Regions from separate parts of the Homo sapiens genome. Here region 2 is linked to region 1. The links are contacts of gene promoters, found by promoter capture Hi-C in blood cells and fetal thymus (Javierre and others, 2016). All regions are on one chromosome and are shown on one strand. The core of a region is centred on a gene start or on the middle of the fragment in contact, and the rest is flanking DNA. Distances in the headings are between cores, read along the strand shown.

Region 1 (5,680 bases), core at 2,011-4,510:
GACACCAAACACACACACTCAGGTTCAGAGCAGGCACCCCAAATCGCATGCATAAGGGAAGGGAAGCCCGCAGGAAAGAGGCGTCCCTCCCCAAGGAATGGTGTCCACCTCAACACACAGCCCTGAGGAAGTTCAGCAAGCTGGATGATCCGCGGAATTGCCTCAGTTTACCAGCTCTCCGGAGAGCGGTGGCCCTGGCGGCTGTGAGTAAACAGGCCTGTGCTTAGTGAACCATCCGCTCGAGCGGGTGTGTGTCTGCTAGGGACTTCTGCACTTCCTTTTAGGAGCCAAACATCCTACAGATCCCTCCCCGGCAAGTGTCACTCACGCCTCCCATTTCCCATAGATGCCTTCTCTTCCCCTTCCTTCCCCAGAAGCCCCTCCCCTCTGACCTCCACCCACAACTCCGGGAGGACTAAGTTGCCCAAGTTGCCCAAGACTGGAGACCCAATCATTCCTCTCCTGCTTTCCTCTAACTCTCCCTGATGCCTTTCCCCGCCTCCTCCCCTCCTCCCAACCCCACCTCCGGCCTCTCCAGCTCAGGGCTGCAGCCTGGGGAGAGCTTCTGGGAAGGGTGGGATGCAGCTCCCATTTACCCCATGTCTTTTCGGCAACTTCTGGTGGCAGGGACATAGCAGCGGCTGGGGAGCAGGTCATAGATGGGCCTATCCTGGGCCCAGGTAAGGTCTTTATGCCAAGGCGGACATCTGGAGCCCTGGTCCAGGATGTGTCGACATACAGACAACAGAACGCATAGTCTAAAAACATAATTTAATGCATCGCGGTGAGTCTGAGTCAGGAGGGAATGCGGTGTGGAGAGGTGAATTTTCTGTTTGCTGGAATTCTGCTGTGGGTGGGGTTTTGGCTGATGGACAGGGAAATCTGCACAAGTATTTCGGGTCACAAAGAAGGACGCCCCAGGAAGCCCGCGCTCCCTCTGGCCTACCTCCCTGGCCAGGGCCCGGAGCCCTCCGCTTCTAGGCACTGGGAGGAGGCTGTCTGAGGAGGGCAGGCTCCCGGCCCTGCCTGTCCAGTCTAATCAGGTTTGCAAAGTCTGTGCCGCCGCCTCAAGGGCTCGGGCGTCCCTTCCTCCCTTGCCGGGATGGGGATGGAGACCAGGAGCACAGCCCTGAGCGTGGTGGGTCGCAGACGCACTGAGGCCAGGAGCGGGGCAGGGAGGACGCAGGGATTTGTCTTTTCCAAAGGAGATGTCAGGAAGTGTTATGAATCGAGAGTGGCCTTTGCCAAGGAGCCGCGCCCGGGCGGAGACCGGGCGGCCTGCAGCCACCCCGCCTCGCACCCCCCGCGCCCCTAATCCGGGTACAGAAGAAAGCCCGAGAACGTGCTGTACTTGTTATTATTGCCTCCGTGAGCCTTCCCGCCATCCAGCTTCACATACACTTCGTCCCCTGAATCCAAGTGCAGCACCACGCTGTTACTGGCGTAGTCGTAGTTCTGGTCGGCGTCCTGTGCAATGGCGCTGGCCCGGACCTGGGGACAAGCGGTGGGAGCAGGTGAGCCGGGGCACCTCTTCCCGCGCCTTTGCTCAGCCCACACCAGGCGCGCCACTCACGGGCCTCCCGCCTGCTGCTTCAGGGTCCACACTCCCACCCCAGCTCCATGTTCTCTCTCCAACTTAGTCAACTCCTTCCAGGTCCCCCCTCCTCCTCGCGCCGACGAGTCTGGGAAATAGGGAGAGGGGAAGCTTCATGAACACTGACCCAGAGTGGAAGGGTGGGAGCCAGGGGCCAGGGCCAAGAGGAAAGGAGGCTGCAGGGCAAGGGGGCGACCTGGAGAGAACTAAAGAACTGAGGTTTCCGAGAAGCCCACGGAGAGGCAGGCAGGGACGCAAGTGGCCAAGGAGTGTAGTTTAGGTATGGGGGTCTCTGGGCTCTCAAGGCCCAACATTTGGCTCTACGTCCCGGTGAGCGCGGCCTCGGCGCATCGGGAAGCGGAGATACTGTGGCACCGAGGCGCGTTCATTCCCGGGGCTCGCAGGGTAGCCCGCGGGTGGAGAGAAAGGAGGCTGGTTCCCTGGGAGGTTCAGGGCGCGGGCGAGGGTTTACGGGGGCCGGTGAGTGTAGGGGTCACTGACCTGCCCGTTCTTGCAGAGGTCCGCCCACATGCTGGTGCCGTCGCCGCCGCGCATGAGGATGTGGTAGGTGAAGAAGTAGATGCCGCGTACCTGGCAGCTGAACTTGCCCGTGGTGGGGTCATAGTGATTGCCGAGGTTGGTGACCACGTCATCGAACTTCAGCACCTCATAGCCTTCGTGGGGGCTCTTGAGACCCACATAGAAGGCGATCTTGGGGCCGCTGAAGGTGGCGCTCAGCGCACTGGTCACTTCACCCTCGGAATCGCCACCTACCCCGGCCCCGCCGCCCACCACCCCGACGCCGCTGGCCGTGCCCGCCGTCAGTTGCAGCCCTGGCAGCCCGGGCCGCCCCGAGTCGCCCTTCTCTCCCGGAGGGCCCCTGGGTCCAGGCGGGCCCGGCTCTCCAGGGGGCCCCCGCGGCCCTGGCTTGCCCGGTCGCCCCGGGTCGCCCTTGGGTCCCTGGATGAAAGGAGGAGGAGGGTTGGCGCTGAGGTCCTGCATGACTTCCAGGGCGGCGGTGCTGGGTCCGGGTGGCTGCGCCTTTGCACCCGGGGGCTCCCCGCCGGGCGCGGCAGTGTAAGGGTCGCAGATCATGCGGCAGGTGCCCATCATCTCATAGTGCGCGGCGCCTCGGGGCGCCGCCTGCAGCAGCAGCGGCACGGCGATGAGCAGCCCGAGCGCCATGGCCAAGAGTACGCCGACGGCCGCCAGGCAGGCACGCCGCCGCCGCTGCCACAGCCGGGAGGCGACCGCCACCAGCTCCTCCTTGCCGCCCGGGGAGGTAATGGTGGGGCGGCGCGGGCGGCCCCGCTCCCCGCGCTCGGGGACCGGCTCCGCGGGTCCTGGCCGCGCCCCCGACGTGGCGACCCCCAGCCCCGGCTACCCAACTACTTCAGCGAGAGGCGCCGGGACCTCTGAGCCTGGGCCCACCGCGCTGGGGCTGGTCGGGAGAGCCGCGGACGCCCGCGCGCATGACGTGGGGCACACAAGACGAATCCGGCGCCCCGAGGGTCCGGCGCCGGCCAGGGAGTGCTTGCGCTGGCCGGGGAGTCTGCTTGCGGCGTCCGGCGCTGGCTCCGCGGCGCTGCCTCCCGCCAGGCTCCGCTCCGCTGGGTTTAGTGGGGCTCCTAGCGCAGTGAGGGCGCCCCGGCTCCGCGGCGCGCTCTGCTGTGCTCTCTCGCTGTTCGCTGGCTCCCGCGCGGAGGGGGGACCCCGCTACCCTGACGTAAGGAGTCCGGGGCTGAGCGGCGGAGGCGGCGAAGCAGCGCGCGCTGCCATCACTCGGGAGACGGAGCCCTCATGTCATCAGCCTCCTATCTGGCGGCGTCCTCGGCAGAGGCGGTGAAGGCGCGGTTCCCCCTGGCGGCTCCCAGGAGCCACAAGTGGGCGCAGCGGGCGCGGTCCCAAGCCGGGGCACATCGGACACACCCACCCGCGGCCACACTCACGCGCCCCCCACCGATAACACACACAGACACCCACGCACGCAGTGGCGGGGCACGCACAGCCACCCCCACATGGCCACGAAAGCAGCTGGAATCCAGGTGTCAGCAGGGCTCCTCTGGGGTCACCTAATCCATCCCCTGGCCTGCAAAGAGGATCAAACCTCAACCCACCGAGTCCAGGAGAGTCCCGTGAGGTCCAGCGGGAAGGAGTTTCTGAAAGACCTCCTGAGTTATTTCTTCAGAATTGAATAGATCTCGCTTCTGGAAGATCTTTCGCAAACCTAGACTAAGGACTCCAGACTCTTAAACAGGCTCCCGTAGAGCACCCCACTAACCTCTGAGGTGACTCTAAAAAGCCCAAGGCTCCCAATACAAGAATATTTGCGGCCGGGCGCAGTGGCTCACGCCTGTGATCCCAACACTTTGGGAGGCCGAAGCGGGCAGATCACCTGAGGTTGGGAGTTTGAGACCAGCCTGACCAACATGATGAAACCCCGTCTGTACTAAAAACACAAAATTAACTGGGCATGGTGGTGCATGCCCGTAATCCCAGCTACGCGGAAGGCTGAGGCAGGAGAGTCGCTTGAACCAGAGAGGCAGAGGTTGCGGTGAGGCGGGATCGTGCCATTGCACTCCAGCCTGGGCAACAAAAGCAAAAGTCCATCTCAAAAAAAAAAAAAAAAAAAAGGAATATTCGCCTCAGACCTTTTCTTCCACCAGAAAATGGCTGGCCCTTGTCCTCTGCGTGAAGCTGGTGTAGAAACCAAATGCTTGATGCCGGCACTTGGCAGTGATCATGGTGCACTCAGCTTCTACTCCAAGCCCGGCCACTGCCAGGCAGATGCATGGGCACATTCCCTTGGACATCCCCAGCTTCCTCCTCCTGAGATGGGTTTAGTTATTTTAGAAAATAGTCCAAATAGTCCAAAGCCATTCTGAGCCAGTCTTGAATAAACCATGGCCTCAGATGAGAGCAGAATAGTCTATCTCCAATGTAGCATGTGAGGCTAAGGAAGGATGAGAGGCCCGCCGGTGTGGGAGAGACTTCCAGCGGAGAAATCAAAGCCCCAGCTTCTGCTCTTGCCCTGAGTAGCTGTGTGATTTTGCCAGGTGGTTCCTGTCCCTGAGACTCAGTTTCCTTAAAAGGCCGCCTCCTGCCCTAGCACCCCCAACATGGGAATCACACCAGGCCTGTCCTGGGGGGAGAATCTAAGGGCTGGTGTCAGTGTTTGGTGTAGCATCAGCATCTCTGGAACAACAGTGCACCCACCTAAGGCTATTGCTTTGAAGCTAACTCTCATTTGTCCTGCACTAGGTTCTTACGGGTTAATTAAAATCTATTTTTGTCCTCTGATCACCCTGGGTCATTTCCCCACTCCCAACCTCGTTGCTCTAGCCTGTTCTCTCCACATATATTTGTGGAAAGGATGACTGAGCCTAGCCGGAAGCCAACTTTACCAAGGAGAGAAGGAGCACATTTATTGGCACCTACTACGTATGCATCAGGCACTTTGCACGTGCTCCTTCATTCATTCCTCATGTTACTGTGGATTAGTGATCATTTTCCCACCGCACCAATGAGGAAAAAAAAAAGGTTTTGCAAGTGTAGGGTGTTTGCCAAGTGCATTTTACCCACATGACAGAGCCAGGATCCTCCCGGCACCCAGATCAGGGGCTATCTGAACCTGTCAGTGAACACAGCTTCAACAGCTACTTCTTGGCCACAGTCTTCACTGGTTTCCTCAGACTTGGGAGTCTTTCTCCACTCTCTGCCTCAGAGTCATCCCAAGAGCACGTGATTTCAGGAGCCACATGGCCTACTTCCAATCCTGGGTCTGAGACTTCCTGTCTGTGTGACCTTGAGCAAGTTGCTTCATCTCTCTGAGCTCGGATCTCCATGTGTAGAATGGGAATGGAAAAAGAACCTACCTCTAAGTTATTGAGAAGACTGAACGAGCCAATTAATGTAAAGGCTTTAGAACAATAGCTAGCTCAGTAGAAGCTTAGCTATTTTTATTAGCTATTGATGCTTTCAACCTCCCCTGCCATGGTTATGACCACTAGGATGCGACATGAAGGCAATATGCAGGGTGGCATGGGGAGGGTTAGGGTTTTAAAAAAAGAGAAGCTCAAAGATAAT
Region 2 (5,680 bases), core at 1,487-3,986, 280 kb before region 1:
TTGAGACGAGCCTGGCCAACATGGTGAAATGCTGTCTCTAATAAAAATACAAAGATTAGCTGGGCGTGGTGGTGGGTGCCTGTAATCCCAGCTATTTGGGAGGATGAGGCAGAAGAATCGCTTGAGCCTGGAAGGCCGTTGTTGCAGTCAGTCAAGATCACACTATTGCACTCCAGCCTGGGCAACAAGAGTGAGACTCCGTCTCAAGGAAAAAAAAAAAGAAAAGAAAAGTAGAAGAGTTGCCATTTATTTGCCTGGGGTGCAGTGCAAGCTGACACTCAGGTACACTCACCCCTTGGTAGGTGCCCCTGAGAAGGACACAATTTGCCAACTGCAAGTGGTGGCCCCAGGTAAGATGCCTCACTCATTGGCAGGCACTCTTGGTGGATCTCCTGAGAAGGAGCCATACAGATTGTCTGCTGGTGTGGGTGATCTGTGCAGACAGCCCCACTACAGTTGTGGACTGGGCCTCGAATGTGTTTCTCTGGCAGTGGTGCATTGACTGGACCCACACAAAGCCTTCCAGCTCATCAGCCTTCTTGCTAACGCAATGTGTGCAAGAAGAATTCAGGATCCCCTGTATTTGGTATGTGTGTGTTGGGTTTACAGTCAAAACCAGACAGAGGAAGTCTCTCTCTGATGTCAAATATCAGATATTTGGAAAACTTTTTCAAAACGCCAATATAACACAATGTTTAAGAGTACAGACTCTAGTAGCAGACTTGTCCATTTAAATCCTGGCACCACCGCTTTCCACTGATGCCAATGGAATATTCTTTAACTTCTTTGAGACTTTATTCCTCTATCTTTACATAAGGATGATGCCTACTTCCTACGGTTAATGTAAAGATCAAATAAGACACTGTGTGTGAAGCACCCATCCCATCATAAGTACTTGATGAACTATGATTAGACAAGATATCTGAATGGCTGTTTCGTCTTTTGACCTGGAAGCTTGGCTAGAACAGTTTTAAACAGTTAAAAATGAAGAGAAATCAGTTAAACAAATGGTGCTTTTAGAAGATGCTGGAAGACAGAGGATGATCTGGATGACCCCTTTACTTGCAAAGGCTTCAGGATGATGTCTGCATGAGCACACTGAGCTGTTTGTCTCTTCAACAGGGTGACTCTCGAGTAATGATGCTGGCCAGTGCCACCCCTAATTGAGTTTTAATTACAGTACTTCCAGGAACAATGAAGTGAAACCTCTGTTCTCCTTGCATAATTAAATTTAGGTTAGCATATCTGGAGAATTCTTAGCCCACACATGCACCACTTCTCCTTGTCTGAAGAGGGATTTCAAAATTGGACATTGTTGTTTAACGGATGGAGTTAAAGAATGACACATGGGCTTTGCTCCTCTTTAATTACGAATAGTTAATTGTAGAAAGAACCTAATTAGATTGCCCACCAGCGGGAGATGTAGGTGGAGATGAGATGGATCTCTTCATTAGCTATGGTTCCAAGGAAAAGAGGCCAAGGAGGTTTCCAGGCAGGGCAGTCATAATTTTGAGAGACACTGCGGTCCGTGGAAGGGGACTGACTTTGTGAACCTGCAGGCGCTTTGGAGCACCTACATGCTGAGCACCTAAGTTCCAAGCACCATGCTTGTCTCTGAAAGCAGCCCAAGGAAAGGAAAAGACATGGTCCCTTTCCTTGAGATGCCATTAGCTTGTTCAAAAAAACAAAATTAGCATGCTGGAAGCAGAGAAAAAGGAGACCTTCCTCAAAACCTAAACCATGAGCTACTGATGACAGGTTCTAACTGGCGTCCAAGAAAGCAGCTCACTGGAAACTGCAATGGCTTGCAGAATGCTGTGTGGAACCCAAGTCCAAAATCAGTCTCTATCGTTATAAGTGCCGAAGGCTTGACTGGTTAAGTAGCCTAGTGATTCTCAACTGAGGGCGATTTTGTGTCTTGCCTCTCCTGCATAGGACTTTGGCAACATCTGGAGACATTTTTGGTTGCCCTAACTAAGCGGGTTGTTACAGGCATCTCGTAAGTAGAGGCCAGAGATGCTGCTAAACATCATGCAATGCACAGGATGGCCTCACCCCACCCCCAACAAAGAAATATCCAGCCCCAAATGTTCAGAGTACTGAGGCTGAGAAACCCTGGAGTAACCTGTTCTGGATCCAGGGCAGCAAGCGTGGCAGAGAAGTCTCTCGTGCCATGTCAAAGTGTGGCCTGAGACAGACACGTGCTTCCAATCAGCCTCCAGGAGCAGCCACCATCAGGTCACCTGTAGAGAAGGTCCCAGCCTGTGTTTCTTTTGTAAATGGCCGCAGGGTAGCTGCTCAACAGGTTGATCAGCAGTTGGCGAGGGAGTGTGTTCTATAGCTTGGCCACCAGGTGGAGATCGTGGGCTGTTTTTTTGCCATGGAATAGGTGCACCTGAGCTGGACCGGCCTACCCAGAGAGAGGCGTTTGCTCCTGGTTGCTTTCTCTAAGCCTCTGGTAGCCATCAGGAAGAGGGACTTTGAGGAGACAGAGGCATGAACTGGAGAGAGTGCTCAATATCCTCTTCTTGCTTAGCAATCCCTGGGCGTTTACAGCTCTGATCCTCCTTTCCAAACATTGAGATTTGCACCCTGGAACTTTTCTGTTAGCAGTGTCTATTCTGAAGGGGTATTTTGCTCCACTGTTATAAATGTGCCCTGTTGTTTCTGTCTGGAAGACAGACTGGGGAATATGGATAGGGATTGGGGAGGTGGGCAGATGGAAGAGCTACATGGCAGAGGTTGGCGCATCCCATCCCTCAGGTCACGATGTATGCCTGATGCTCTGCACACATGACCTCATTTTACCTCTTGGTGGACCATTTTAGATAGAGGCTTAACAACAAGCCAAAGTTGCACATTAAAGCCAAGTCCAGTCCTCCCCACGTCCCCACAGAGCCTCTTCTTCGACATCAGTGTAGGAGTTTCCTCATCTGTAAAGTCATGGGACTGGACTCAGGCTGGTTGCCTTCAGGGAACCATGTAATTTATCACCTGAGCAGGACACTTGGGAGAGTGGGAGGGAGCACTAACAGGACAGTGGTTGGGACAGCAGGTGCAAACCTGGACACGAGGTCAGCCTGGCTAAGTGACCCTTCCTGTCTAATACCCTCAGCTTCTGAGACCCAAGCGGGACTGTTTTCAGCTTCCATGACATTCATGAACATCATCCGGTGTAGCCATAAGGGAAGACCTGGGGGTAGAAAGAGAGTGAGAAAACTTGAAAGGCTGAGACTTTGGGGGCAATGCCTAGGACCAAAGGGGCACACTACCTCAATAGTTGTGTTCCAGGTTATGAGTGTGTCACTTATCACTTTATTGCCTCACTTCTCCCAACCCATACTTCATTGCATTGCTTGTGATACTGGAGGTGAATCTTGCCAACACGTCTCTTTTGCAACTGGCACGATGCTCAGCTTTGCCAGTAGAGGGTGGTAGAGGCACACTGCAGGGGGAAGGGCTTCTCTGCTGGTGTCTCTGTGCTCTGATTCCTTCTTGCTCCCGCGGGGTTCGGGACACCCAGTTGCAGCCTCCCTCAAGGACTTGCAGTGGCATCCCCTGTGTGCAGCTTTCTAGCGAGTTCTGCTGGCACCTCGCCCAGCTTCCAGTGAGTTCAAAAGCACCCCTTGAGGGCTTCGCCGTCCCACCAGTCCCCCAGCCGATTTTTCAGAAAGTTCAGCAGCGTTTCCTCCAGGCAGCTTCCCGGAAAGGGTTGCTGTCACCCCCGGGGGCAGTTTCCTGTTGGACAGTCTCCACCTGTCACCTGGGCAAACTTCATTCTCCAGTGGGGACAGCCCCATGCTCTCCCGCAAAGTCTGATTCTCATCCTTGGTGGTGAGAGGGGAAGCGGGTGGGGTGTCCCACATTTGTTTTCTCCTCGGGCACTTCGCTTAGCCTTTAGTGCCTGCCCCATATATCTGCCACCTCTGTAAAGTGCTCCCTTTACCCTCAGTAGCCAATACCCTGATACTCCCCTGTTATTAGTTAATAATTCTTAACTTTCCCATTTAAAATCCTGTGTGGTTTTCGTCTCTTGTTTGTCTGATAGTTTTCTTTCATTTTTCAACATCTATTTTTGACTTTCTTTTTGTATTTGTCCTGCTTATCGAGGACCTTGTTTGTAGAAATGCATCAAGAAATAAATTCTTTCATGCCACCAAATTCAGGAGACTCGAGTGAGTATGCTAAGTGGTTTCAGATAGCTGACCCTGAAAGTGTGCAGAGCTGAGCAATGTGTATGGTTCCCCCAAAGCAACTGTCCCTATGTCTTCAAGTTCCCAGGGTTTAAAACACCATGTTGCTTATGCCACTGGGCAGCAAGAAGTGGGCAAGTCACCTCCCCTCTCTAGGCCTCAGGATCTCCTTTTGTGTCCGGAGTTGGTTCCTTCCAGTGAGTTCTTGGTCTGGCTGACTTGAAGAATGAAGTCGCGGACCTTTATGGCGAGTGTTATAGCTCTTAAAAGTGGTGCAAACCCAAAGACTGAGCAGTAGCAAGATTTATTGTGAAGAAGGAAAGAACTAAGCTTCCACAGCATAGAAGGGGATCCCAGCAGGTTGCTGCTGCTGGCTGGGGTGGCCAGCTTTTATTCCCTTATTTGTCCCTGCCCACCTTCTGATGATTGGTCCATTTTACAGAGTGCTGATTGGTCCATTTTACAATCCTTTAGTTAGACACAGAGCGCTGATTGATGCATATTTGCAGAGTTCTGATTGGTGCATTTACAATCCTTTAGCTTGACACAAAAGTTCTCCAAGTCCCCACTAGACCCAGGAAGTCCAGCTGGCTTCATCTCTCAATCTCCCCTCTAAACAGGACACCCCAACTGCTGTTGGGAATTGGGAGATGACTGCTCTAGCTACTTCCTGCTGGATAGGGGTGAAGAAGGGGCCCTGCAGTTGTAGTGTCCTCCAGAGGGGAACTCTTTAGGCCAGTGTAAGGGCCAGCGGGTCGGTCCAAGGATCCTCACTAGAAATTGTTAGTTGAGCTCATTTGGGGCTCCATTTGTAAGATCATCTGTAGTTTGATGGCCTCAATCCTAGAGGAAACAAATTTTACAAGGAGGTTAAAAATGCAGGGCCCGAAGGTGAGTAATAGTAAGCTGGCTGTCACGGTACCTAGAAAGCAGAGAAGCCATGTCGCCCAACTCCAGAGGTTGGTATAAGAGTTTGAAAGGCGTTGTCTGATTTCAGAAGCCTTTTCCTGTAAACGCCGGGCAGCATCTCTTACTATCCCTGACTGGTTAGTGTAAAAACATCACTCTTCCCCTAAGAAGGTGCAGAGTCGTCCCTTCTCAGCAGTAAGGAGATCTAGGCCTCGGTGATTTTGGAGAGTCACTGCTGCCAAAGAGTCTATTTGGGATTGCAGAGGAAGGATAGATTTTGTTATTTCTTGCAAACTGCCTGAGAGGCAGATATAGGTTGAAGTTCCACATAAGAAGAATATGCCTTGGCTGGGTAGACAGAAATTTACCCTGGCTTTTAAAGGAATAGGGTACACTGTTTTTTCTTTACTACTTCTATCTCTCTCTTTCTCTCTCTTTGACTCCTTCTTTGTCTGTCTCTCTTTTGTAAAATGAGAGGGTAGGACAAGGTCATCACTAACATACCCTCCAGCTGTAAGAGTCTGAAATTCTATAGCTGGATGTATGTTCCAGAAACATCTGTACTTTCTCATTATCCA

The links. The method cuts DNA at HindIII sites, captures the fragments that hold promoters and counts their contacts. A CHiCAGO score of 5 or more calls a contact.
Region 2: a fragment that was not itself captured here is called in contact with the fragment with the promoter of C1QL2 in region 1 in 10 of 17 cell types (M0 macrophages, M1 macrophages, M2 macrophages and 7 more); the score reaches 16.9 in M0 macrophages.

Annotation. Positions count from the first base shown.
Region 1 is chr2:119,155,491-119,161,170 of GRCh38, forward strand. C1QL2 (complement C1q like 2) reads right to left here and starts at 3,261. Exons shown (of 2, transcript NM_182528.4): 1 at 2,096-3,261; 2 at 753-1,491. The coding sequence starts at 2,779. The coding sequence ends at 1,312. RefSeq lists an enhancer at 1,629-2,439. The HindIII fragment of the contact is 3,837 bases long and covers 1,704-5,540 here.
Region 2 is chr2:118,879,378-118,885,057 of GRCh38, forward strand. No RefSeq gene overlaps it. Among named protein-coding and RNA genes, the nearest start is that of EN1, 35 kb to the left of the region's middle. RefSeq lists a silencer at 2,388-2,447. The HindIII fragment of the contact is 3,569 bases long and covers 953-4,521 here.